2 separate regions of the Homo sapiens genome follow, and region 2 is linked to region 1. The links are contacts of gene promoters, found by promoter capture Hi-C in blood cells and fetal thymus (Javierre and others, 2016). All regions are on one chromosome and are shown on one strand. Each heading gives the region's core, a stretch centred on a gene start or on the middle of the fragment in contact. The rest is flanking DNA. Distances are from core to core; before and after follow the strand shown. Region 1 holds the start of ADAMTSL1 (ADAMTS like 1). Region 2 overlaps SAXO1 (stabilizer of axonemal microtubules 1).

Region 1 (5,211 bases), core at 2,186-4,685:
TTTCCTCCCATAAAGCACACTGAATGTTAACAGCTTGCTTCTGTCCAAGCTGGTGTCTTTTCAATTAAGTATTGTTAAATCCATACCATTTGGAATGATGCTTCAGACAGCCCTGACACTCTCTCTCTCTTGCTTCTGATTTCATTTCACCTAATATGTTGTGCATGGAGCCAGTAACCAGTATTATTCAGCTGCCACGGCTTCTGCTAGTGCTGCTGCTCACACACTTGCAGACGGTTTTAATTTAGATACCTGAAGAGGAAAAAAGGAATTTGGCCAACGCCCTGCTCAGATGCCGTAAGTGGCCTTTCCCCGGTTGCCATTAATATGGATCTAGATTACCTAAAGTTTTACATTACTTTTCCTAGGTGCTGAAAACGTTTTAGAAATGAGAAAGTCAAGACACATAGAAGCTGGAGGCTAAAATAAGATACTTTCCATCGTCAGGTAACATATACCCATGGTAAACCCTGGTAGCCTACTTTCCTTTTCCTATAAACATCCCCCTTCAACAACATCACTGCCAACATCTGAATATATGTATGTGTATACATCATATATAGATATAATGCATATATATGAATATGAGATGAGGGTGGATTTAGATTCGGTAAACCGTGGCTCAATGGCCAGTTCTAGCCAGCAAAGCTTTAGTCAAGTCACTTAACTTCTCTGAGCCTCAGTTTCCACGTACATAAAATGGGGTGATTACTTAATTTCAAAAAGTAGTCACAAAGGTCAAATGAGATCATAAATGTAAAATCACTTTGTAAACCATAAAGATGGCATGTACATTTTGGCCATCATCAAAATTAGTTCATGACCAAAACTTTTCCCAGTCACCTTAACCCAACTTGATTTTGTTCTCCCTTTTCTGAAGTTATAGTAAATTTGTAATTTCACCTGTACTGTGTAGCTCTGGATGTGCAATTGCTTTTCCTAGTTTCTCTGGGTATTCCCAAGAGGAAAGAAAATGCTGTGAGGAATCAGAAGCATGAGACAGTGTGGTGGGCATCCTCCAGGCATTCAACAGGTGATTGAGGGCTTAACTTTAAAATAGTATATTATTCGGTGACTTCATTGAGATGACCATCTTGCTGTACATTAGCATGCCCATTAAAACTTCAAGGCAGAAATTTCTGACTCAAAATACCTAGGCAGTATTTATTTGCAAAGCAGAAAAGAATCTAAACTAGCATGTAAGTGGTTCCCAGTTATTTTCTGACCATGCTGATTATTTTTCTGTTCCTCTACAAATAGTATCTCATCATTAGCTTTGTTGCTACTTTTCTTTCTCCCATTACCTATTCTTCCCTTTGGATCTGCTTAATGAGCAGGGTTTATGTGTGAAGAGGGAGGAGGTGGTATTAGGTAAAATGTTCCATTAATAGAACTAGCTGAAACTCTTCAGTTAATGACTGTGATAGGAGGGAAAAAAATAAACCCTTTAGCAGAAAGCTCTGGTGTGTAACAGAGAGACACATGTAACATAGCTTTATGAATGAAAGTTTATTTCAATCAATCACCTTTCTTTAATGTGATGAGGATTTCAGACAAAAACAATAGTGGAAAGACAAAGTTAAGCATTTTTACATCTACTTGTGAATACGCTTTAGCTTATGAGCATTAGCTAGTTTTTGAGAGATTTGTAAAACAAATCTTTCTAAAAGGGAAAAGCATATTTCAAGAATGGGCTCTCTTTGTTATGGATTTGTACTGTCCATTTTTCTAGGTCCACATACTTAATATTGAGAACAAAGGATAATCTTTGTATGACCTTGACTTTCCTAACAGCATGAAAATAGGATTTTTAAAGTTTCTCTCTCTTTAATTGATATACCATATGAAGTAGGTAACCTAAAGTTGAACAACCTGCTTTTCTTCACCTTTTTGAAAAGCAACGCAGCAGGTATGTACATAGGCAGACCTGCCTGTATTCACATGCCCATTATGGCTTGATCAGGTTTTCCATATTCGTGTGTTTCATACCTCTTGTCAGTATTTTTTAATAATGAAAGGAAAGAACATTAATTCTAAATGTCTTGTACCTCCACTGCATATATTTCTGGGCTATCAGGAGATCTGAAAAGGGAAAACGTCCTGATGACACACCTATGGCAATGTAAGGCCAGGGCTGCTCTTTTATTCTTTCAAAACTCAATGATTTCCTTTGCAGATAAGGGGAAATACATCCTTGTTTGACATTTGACACTTTTCTAAAACTGTAATAAAACCTTCCTCTAGTAGAGTCAAATCTCCCTTGCTGGTGGATTAAGCAGCTTCAGAAGCTTCCTGACCTTCTCGTTGCTGTTGCTGGCCTTGTCGTCATTTCACTGCTCATTAGCACTTCCTTCAGGGCTGGACTGGCCTCCAAGGTCATCCCATCCAACCCTCTTGCAATAGTGGATGGAAAAATGAGGTAAAACTCAGTTCAGCCTTTTCTGCATTATAACAGCTCTGATAAAGGACGTGGGTGAGGTGCGGAGGAAGCTGAAACTTGGTTAAAAGAAGGTTTGGGGATTAACTGAGGATTTAATTCATCCTTTCTTTCTCTCCCGTGGCTAAAATAGATAGTTGAGAGTTGGCAGTGCATCAAAACCAGGCTGCTCCTCAACCCCAAATTTCAGCCCCACTCATCCTGGAGTCTTTGTTGAGGGTTTCTTTTTAAACTGGGGGATCTAAGTTTCTAATTGTGCCTTTACAATTAGCAAATCTTAAATGCCTTCAATTGTCACTTTACAGAGAAGCAACTTGCTTTGTTTTTTTCCCCCCAAATTAAGTCCTTAATAACACAAAATAACTTATGCCACTGTTTAGGCTTAGTGAGGAACCTTCAGAAAATGTATAGAGTATTTATTTTGCAAGTCAAGAGAGAAAGTAAAGAGGAACTTTATGGAGGCGAAATAAAACAGTTGTACAGAACACATTTACAGGGCACATTAAGTCGGTTTTTGTCTATGGTTCTTTCCCTTTATGGCATATGTTATATATTGACAGGGATTAAGTTTCTCTCCTGAATGGAACAATACACAGTCACAGGGAGCTACTGTACTTTACAAAGCAACAGACATCAGCACAGGCAAATGGCAAATAGAAATGCATCTCACAAAGAACTAACCAGGTCCATGGGAAGCACAGTGCTTGGCTTCATCTTTTGCAATTCTGCATCTTTTGCATTTCCCTTCTCGCTCTGCTGCTCGCTCGCCTTTCTTTTTCGTCCTTTTCCCCCTTTTTTGCTCGCACCGTTACACTTTCTCTGTCCTCCTGGCTTTGTTATTCAGCATGTCTGATTAGCAGGAGCCTGATTGGCTGGCTGCCTGCTCCGAGAGAGATTCCATTCAGCTTACCCCCCACCCATCCACCCACCCACCCCTCGGTCAGGAAATGTGAGAGGGGCTGATGGAAGCTGATAGGCAGGACTGGAGTGTTAGCACCAGTACTGGATGTGACAGCAGGCAGAGGAGCACTTAGCAGCTTATTCAGTGTCCGATTCTGATTCCGGCAAGGATCCAAGCATGGAATGCTGCCGTCGGGCAACTCCTGGCACACTGCTCCTCTTTCTGGCTTTCCTGCTCCTGGTAAATGCCTTTTCATTTCAATGCATTGCTATTGCCATTGAGTCTGGGTGCTGTTGGGGGTGTGTGTGTGTATGTGTGTTTGTGTGTGTGTGTGTGTCTTTATCTTAAAACTCCAGGTAAAATAATTTACACGATTACAAAGAGAGAATACTCCTTCTAGAACTTTTAACCTCAACTTCCCAAGCAAGATAAAGTCTGCAAGACTTTCTGGAATTAGTTACTGCTATACAGTAATACTGATACTGAGACATGAACTTTGGGACATACTGCATGGAGTTTGGGAGCTGAGGACTGTATATATGGTGGTGTGTATGCTTGGAATTTGGATAACAGACATCCTGAAATTAAACTCACTCACTGTGGTGTTCCTGGAATTTTTTGATGGATAGGCTTTGCAGAGCTTGCCCGTACCGCCTTTAATGAATTACTTTCCATCTATGCACATGTACTATGGAACCAGGTAAAGAGGGGAATGAGAGCCTCTTTGCAGCCAACCCAGATTATGGCTCTTAATTACTGCAAGTCATTTATGGATAGAAGTTAATGCTAGGATTTATGAATTGAGGATTATGGCCTTTGATCTCAAATTTACTTTTAAAGAAGAAAAAGGAATGGTGACTTTTAGTACGGCTGATTGCCACAGTCATAGTGATAAGATGCTCTGCTCTTGAACGTCAGTACACATTGCATTTTTGACTCGAAGTAAATGTTCCGTTGTGACTCATACTTGGTTTTATGGGCAGAAAATGAACATTTACTGTCCAAAATAAATCTACACTCAAAATATTAATAGCAATGCACATTTTTTAAACCAGAGTGTTCTGGGCAGGCAGCTTAGTAAACCTCATCTGAAGGTTTGATTCCAAAATTTGCACACACTGATCCAAACAAATGTGATTGTAGTTTTTCCTGTCACATTTATAACATGCCAGAACTTCCTCAGAAGGTAACAAGGCAGGAAGAGAACAAGGTAAAAATGTAGCAAATGAATAGGTTGCATTGATTCCTTGATGGGGAAGGAATGTTTGTTCTGATTATATTCTGACAAATCTGATCTGCGCTATAATTTTGAAGTAGGGAAGAAAGCCATTTGGTACAAACTGAAAAAGTCCAGGAGATTCATCAAATAGAGTAATCAGACAGTGATTCAATATTTTATACATTCCCACTTCTTAATGATTTGCATCATTGTAGCTAAGAAATTATAATGCTGCATTGCAAGTGCTATAAATATAGAAATAAATTTTTAATTTTTCATAGAAATTTAAAGGTAAACTACATTTCAAGCATGAATGAACTATAAGTTTTAGCTGTTCTGAAAAATACAAAGAACAGAATGTTTAGGTATGCTTTATGACTTGTGGAGCAAGCGATTTATGAAAGGTGTCTCATTTTTTCCATATGGGATGTGTTACTTGTATACACCATTAGTTTGTCTCATCTTTCCTTCTTTGTGATTTTTTTAAGTGTGTGTTATTTTCCCATTATATTGCATCATAAAGCAAATTACCAGTATACATTACTTTTTTGATATTTTCATATGGAAGTATGATCTCATTATACTTTAGTAAAACTTTCCCATTCAGGAATAGATTGTTTTGCTATCCATTTGGTAAACGCATTATATCCCTCT
Region 2 (5,407 bases), core at 2,009-4,508, 540 kb after region 1:
TTAATCTAAAAAAAAACAACAACAACAACAAAAACACCTTATATAAAAGTTGAAACCTAGTAAGGTTTATTTTCACTTATCTGCACCTTACCCTTCCCAGGACGTTCTAAAACTCCTCAGGCAACCAGTGCCACGTGCAGTAGAGGGGTGGCCCTGGCACATGGTCATGGCCACATTTTTAGGGCTGGAACCCACATTTCCTGCATGCTTCTGAATCAGTCTTTCCATCAAGCTCCCTTCTGATGGGAAATAAAAGATAATCCAGGGGCTATTTGCTGTTTCTTTACACACCTCTGGTCCTACTAAACAAATATCCCATGTAACCAGGTTCCATATTTCTAGGAAAAAAAAAAAAGAAACCCTATAGTCTTTTAGAACCTGGCCAAGAATGTTAGGAGCAGAAAGATCCTGACCACCCGAAACAGTGAAGTTGTCCCAAAGCCCTTTCTTGTTAGTCCTGGTAAAGGCCCTTCTGTACTCTTTACTTGTTTATATAGAAATATATTATTTGGCTAGCTGACTCTCCAGAATAGAAGCAACTTATTTTAAAAACGGGTTAAAAAAGACAATTACAGGCAGGTAAGCTTATCAAAGAAATCAAGAAGGTATACAACAGTATTCTAGGAAATTTTCTTTCAATGTGATTACCAGGGGCAGTGAGGAGGGGAAACCTTTCCTTTCTCAATAGGACCACATAAAGGAAACCTTTTATTAGACCCAATTACTATAATTACCACCAAATATTGAACATTTAGCTATATGCCAGGCTGTACATTAAGTGCTTGACATACATTACCTGGTACAATCTCTTCAATATCCCCATTTTACACATCAGGGAACTAAGGCCCAGAAAGGTTTTTAAAAGTTCACATCTGTCTAACTCCAGAGTCTCTAACCTCTTCACTACACTACAGTATCCTGCATTGCTTTCTAATTGTTTTATGTAGATGTTTCAGTTGCATAGATTTTAAATTCCCTAAAAAAGTAAAAGTTAAGTATTCTACTTACCCTAATAGCACCCTAAACCTAAGCCAAGTTCAGAGCACTAAAAAGGCTTTTAAATACATGCGTGACTGAACTTCAGTATCAAATAACTCATTTTCTGACTGTCCCATTTCTCCAAATCCTATCAAACTACCTGCTGAGGCATTTGAGCCCATTGCCACTTTCTAACGAGGGAGGCAAGAATGGGCACAACCCCACAGTGTCACTAAACACTCATGCCCTGCTTCATCTCTTGCACTGGGAACCCCAAGGCCATAGATGACTTAAACAAAACATGGCTGAAAGAGACACGCCCGATGCACATGCAGATTGTCCCCTAAATTGAGCACATGAATAAAACTTACCCAAAGTTTTCATAAGCATCCAAGTTTCTTGTGTGCCCAGAGCTAAACCCTAAATTGTAGGGCCCAAGGCTAAGTCAACATCCTATCGGCAAATTGGTGGAAAGTAGGGTCAAAACTAGGATTTGGATAGATGGGTAGATACACCGACTCAGTATTAGTTTTACCTAATGGAATATGGCTATGTTATTCAACCCAAACTGATGGAAAAAATTACCAGTTTTAACAACCAAATCCAGTTTTTAAATAACACAAAATCTAAGTATGCCAATTACGAACCACTTCAGCTCTTTCTTCCTCCCTCCTCTTCTTTCTCAAATTCCATATTCTTACTAAACCATTTCAATTTTACCATTATTAAGCATAGATTTTTTTTTTTTTTTGAGATGGAGTCTCATTCTGTCGCCAGGCTAGAGTGCAGTGGCACAATCTCAGGTCACTGCAACCTCTGCCTCCCAGGTTCAAGCAATTCTCCTGCCTCAGCCTCCCAAGTAGCTGGGACTACAGGCGCAGGTCACCATGCCCGGCCAATTTTTGTATTTTTAGTAGAGACGGGGTTTCACCATGTTGGCCAGGATGGTCTCGATCTCTTGACCTCATGATCCGCCCACCTTGGCCTCCCAAAGTGCTGGAATTACAGGCGTGAGCCACCACGCCCGGCAAGGATAGATTTTTTTTAATGAGAGAGGAAAAAAGATGAGGCATATAGATGTTTGTTTTCTTTTGACCAAAGGCAAATAAAGAGAAGAAAAACTAGAGAAAATAAGATTTAGAGCCTTTTTCTCTCATCTATACCACTTACCATCTGGGGGTTAAGAGCTAGTTTTACTTTCTGAAACCTCTGCAATCTCTTTAGGGACAGTTAGAGGCGCTAGGGCGCCTCACCCCTAATCCTCCCCAAATCCTTAGGTCTGAATTATTAAAATAATCTGTAATAGACAACTGTAAATAGGACCTAGAGTGAAAAATGCTACATGTGAATGTAATCAACTTTGTGGTGTTGGTATATCTAAAGATATGTCAATGTGGCACGAACCATATGGGGGACGGTGGGCACAGAGTTAGATGGGCAACTCTAGCAAGGTACCTACAAGCACTGTCTGGATAAGGAGGCCTGGCAGAGGGGCTCAACCCACCCAGTCCCTAATCTCAGAAGGATACATCAGAACGTGCAAATGGCAGCAGTCCCCTTGCTTAGAACTCAGACAAGCAACCTGTGATTATATTTTGGCTTACTTTTAATTTTTCTAAACAGAAAGTATACTCTGACCAGCAAAAATGAGTTTCTAGGCACTCTCAGTAGATCTGTCTCATTCTAAATAAATTGGCATTTCAGTTTACACAGCAGTCTGTATTAGCCAGGTTAATATTAAGGGAGGCGCTGCGGAGCTCAGGGGGCTGCTCTCTCAGGGTGCTGACAGAAATCAAGATTCTGCACCAACAAAAAGCACCATCAAGTAATGCTAGGCTGTGAGGTTGTTTCTATAGGTCACGCTTTTCTCTAGAAACAACCCTGCCTCATCAGGCCTCTGCCAACCTTTCACAACCTCCACCTAGGCTGAAGGTGGCTCCAGAAGCTACACACAGGCACCTCTTGCATGCCTTTTCATCAAACTGGCCTTCCAGATAGATCCTGGAGGGGAACCACACCAAAAAAAAAAGGAATTTGTGAAAGACTAAATACACTTGATCTTAGCCAAAAGGCCGAGAAGCGATGAAAGACTAAATAACAGCACAAGGCATAAGGCATAAGGCATGGCAATTCAGCACACGAAATGCAGGTGGGTGCCTAAAGATCTTCACCACTGCGGGGGTAACAAAGCCAGGCTATAATAGCAGATTTTGCAACGCCAGTCCCTTTTACTTTCTTAGAGATTAGATTGCCCTCTTGTGGGAAATAGGAGGGGAAAGTTTCACAGTATTTCCCCTTACCTTTTTCCATGATGGCTATAGATAGAACACATCCTGTCTCAGGGCAAGAGCTGACCATTACCATTTAGGAATGCAGTCACAATACTGTCACGTCTTTTGGTATTTCAGAAGAAACTAAAAGTACGGATTTTTTTTTTTTTTTTTTTTTTTTGAGACAGAGTCTGGCTCTGTCACCCAGGCTGGAATGCAGTGGTACAATCTCCGCTCACTGCAACCTCTGCCTCCCGGGTTCAAGTGATTCTCCTGCCTCAGCTTCCCAAGTAGCTGGAATTACAGGCGTGCATCACCATGCCTGGCTAATTTTTGTATTTTTAGTGGAAACGGGTTTTCACCATGTTGGCCAGGCTGGTCTTGAACTCCTGACCTCAGGTGATCCACCCGCCTCGGCCTCCCAAAGTGTTAGGATTACAGGTGTGAGGCGCCACGCCCAGCCCAGATATTTAAAACTCATGAGATTTTACATGTTAGCAGCCAATATGCACTTTTTAGAAAAAATATTTAGCAGGCACCCAGTTCGTGAGCTGGGCATGTTAGTCTGTAACAGAGTCTGGTGAGTCTGAAATACAGGTTGTCAGTATAGTTAATAACAACGTATGAATAAAGTTAGTATACAGAGAGTTAAACGTCCTCAGGATAGTTTGGTGAGCCTGGAACACAGGCAGCATGAGGAGGAATGGCTGGAAAGGTAGAGTAGGGGCTTGATTAAGGGTAGAATTTGTTCTGTAATCAATGGAGAACTATCAAAGGCTTTAAATTGGCAAAAATCACCGGGTACGGTGGCTCACACCTGTAATCGCAGCACTTTGGGAGGCTGAGGTGGGCAGATCACTTGAGGCCAGGAGTGCAAGACCAGCCTGGCCAACGTGGAGAAACCCTATCTCTACTGAAAATACAAAAACTTAGCTGGGCGTGGGGGTGGGCACCTGTAATCCCAGCTACTCGGCAGGCTGAGGCACAAGAATCCCTTGAACCTGGGGGGCAAGGTTGCAGTTAGCTGAGATCACGCCACTGCACTCCAGCCTGGGCAACAGAGCGAAACTGTGTCTCAAAAAAAAAAAAAAAAAGTTAATTAATTAAATTTTAAAAATTTAAAAAAAAATTGGCAAAATTGCCTGATAGGAGTTTTAGAAAAATTGCTATCGGAAATATCACTGACTAGCCCCAGATAGAGGAGTGAAAATAGAACCAAGTAGCTCAAAGAAGCCACCAAACATACTTTGAAACTACAAGATGCTTTGTCAGTGGATAGGATCTTCTTTCATAGATTTAAGACTTCCTCTGAGAGGGGCTTAGAGGCTCAGGAGGTCCACAGCTTTGTCACAGGTATTACCTACCTGTTGTCTCCTCCGTTCCTGGGGAACAACTGAATGTTGGACAACATCCAACCATAGAGGCTCTACATGAAAAATAAAGCCAGTGCTGCTGAGGGTCAGTGTTCCCTCTTCCTGCCGGGGTTAGGAAGTCAAGACCAATAAACAAGACCAGTGAAGAGACCTCAGAGATCGTGAAAACATAAAAACCTCCCCTTGAGTTTTCTCTAATACTTAAGGGGGTGGAGAGTAAACGATCCTTTCCTGAGAAAGATGTAAGGCAAATCAGAGCTAAAAAACGAGAGAGAGTACTTCTGCTGATGATGATGAAGGGCGTTAAGTGCTGGTGTCACGTGTCAAAGCTGCTTCCACACAACCCCTTCCAAAAAAGCCTAAGGACAGACAGCATCTTTACCTTGCTTCTTTTTAATCAATAACTAAAAAGATTTGCAAGTCTTAAAATTGTATCCCTTCCTATGTCAACCAGCCCGGAGTACAATGGCATGATCATGGCTTACCGCAGCCTCAAGCTCCTGGGCTCCAGCAATCCTCATGCCACAGCCTCCCAAGTAATTGGGACTACAAGTGTGCACCACCATGTCTGGCTAATTATTTTTGTTTTGTTATTTTTTGTTTTTGAGACAGAGTCTCATCCTGTCACCCAGGCTGGAGTGCAGTGGCGTGATCTTGGCTTACTGCAAGCTCCGCCTCCCGGATTCAAGTGATTCTCATGCCTCCACTTCCCAAGTAGCTGGGATTATGTGTGTGTACCACCACGCCCGGCTAATTTTTGTATATTTAGTAGAGATGGAGTTTCAC

The links. The method cuts DNA at HindIII sites, captures the fragments that hold promoters and counts their contacts. A CHiCAGO score of 5 or more calls a contact.
Region 2: a fragment that was not itself captured here is called in contact with the fragment with the promoter of ADAMTSL1 in region 1 in 1 of 17 cell types (endothelial precursors); the score reaches 7.4 in endothelial precursors.

The regions. Positions count from the first base shown.
Region 1 is chr9:18,470,718-18,475,928 of GRCh38, forward strand. ADAMTSL1 (ADAMTS like 1) reads left to right here and starts at 3,436. Exons shown (of 29, transcript NM_001040272.6): 1 at 3,436-3,578. The coding sequence starts at 3,516. The HindIII fragment of the contact is 3,309 bases long and covers 2,287-5,211 here.
Region 2 is chr9:19,010,136-19,015,542 of GRCh38, forward strand. All of the region lies in intron 1 of SAXO1 (stabilizer of axonemal microtubules 1), which reads right to left. Among named protein-coding and RNA genes, the nearest start is that of SAXO1, 20 kb to the right of the region's middle. The HindIII fragment of the contact is 5,353 bases long and covers 583-5,407 here.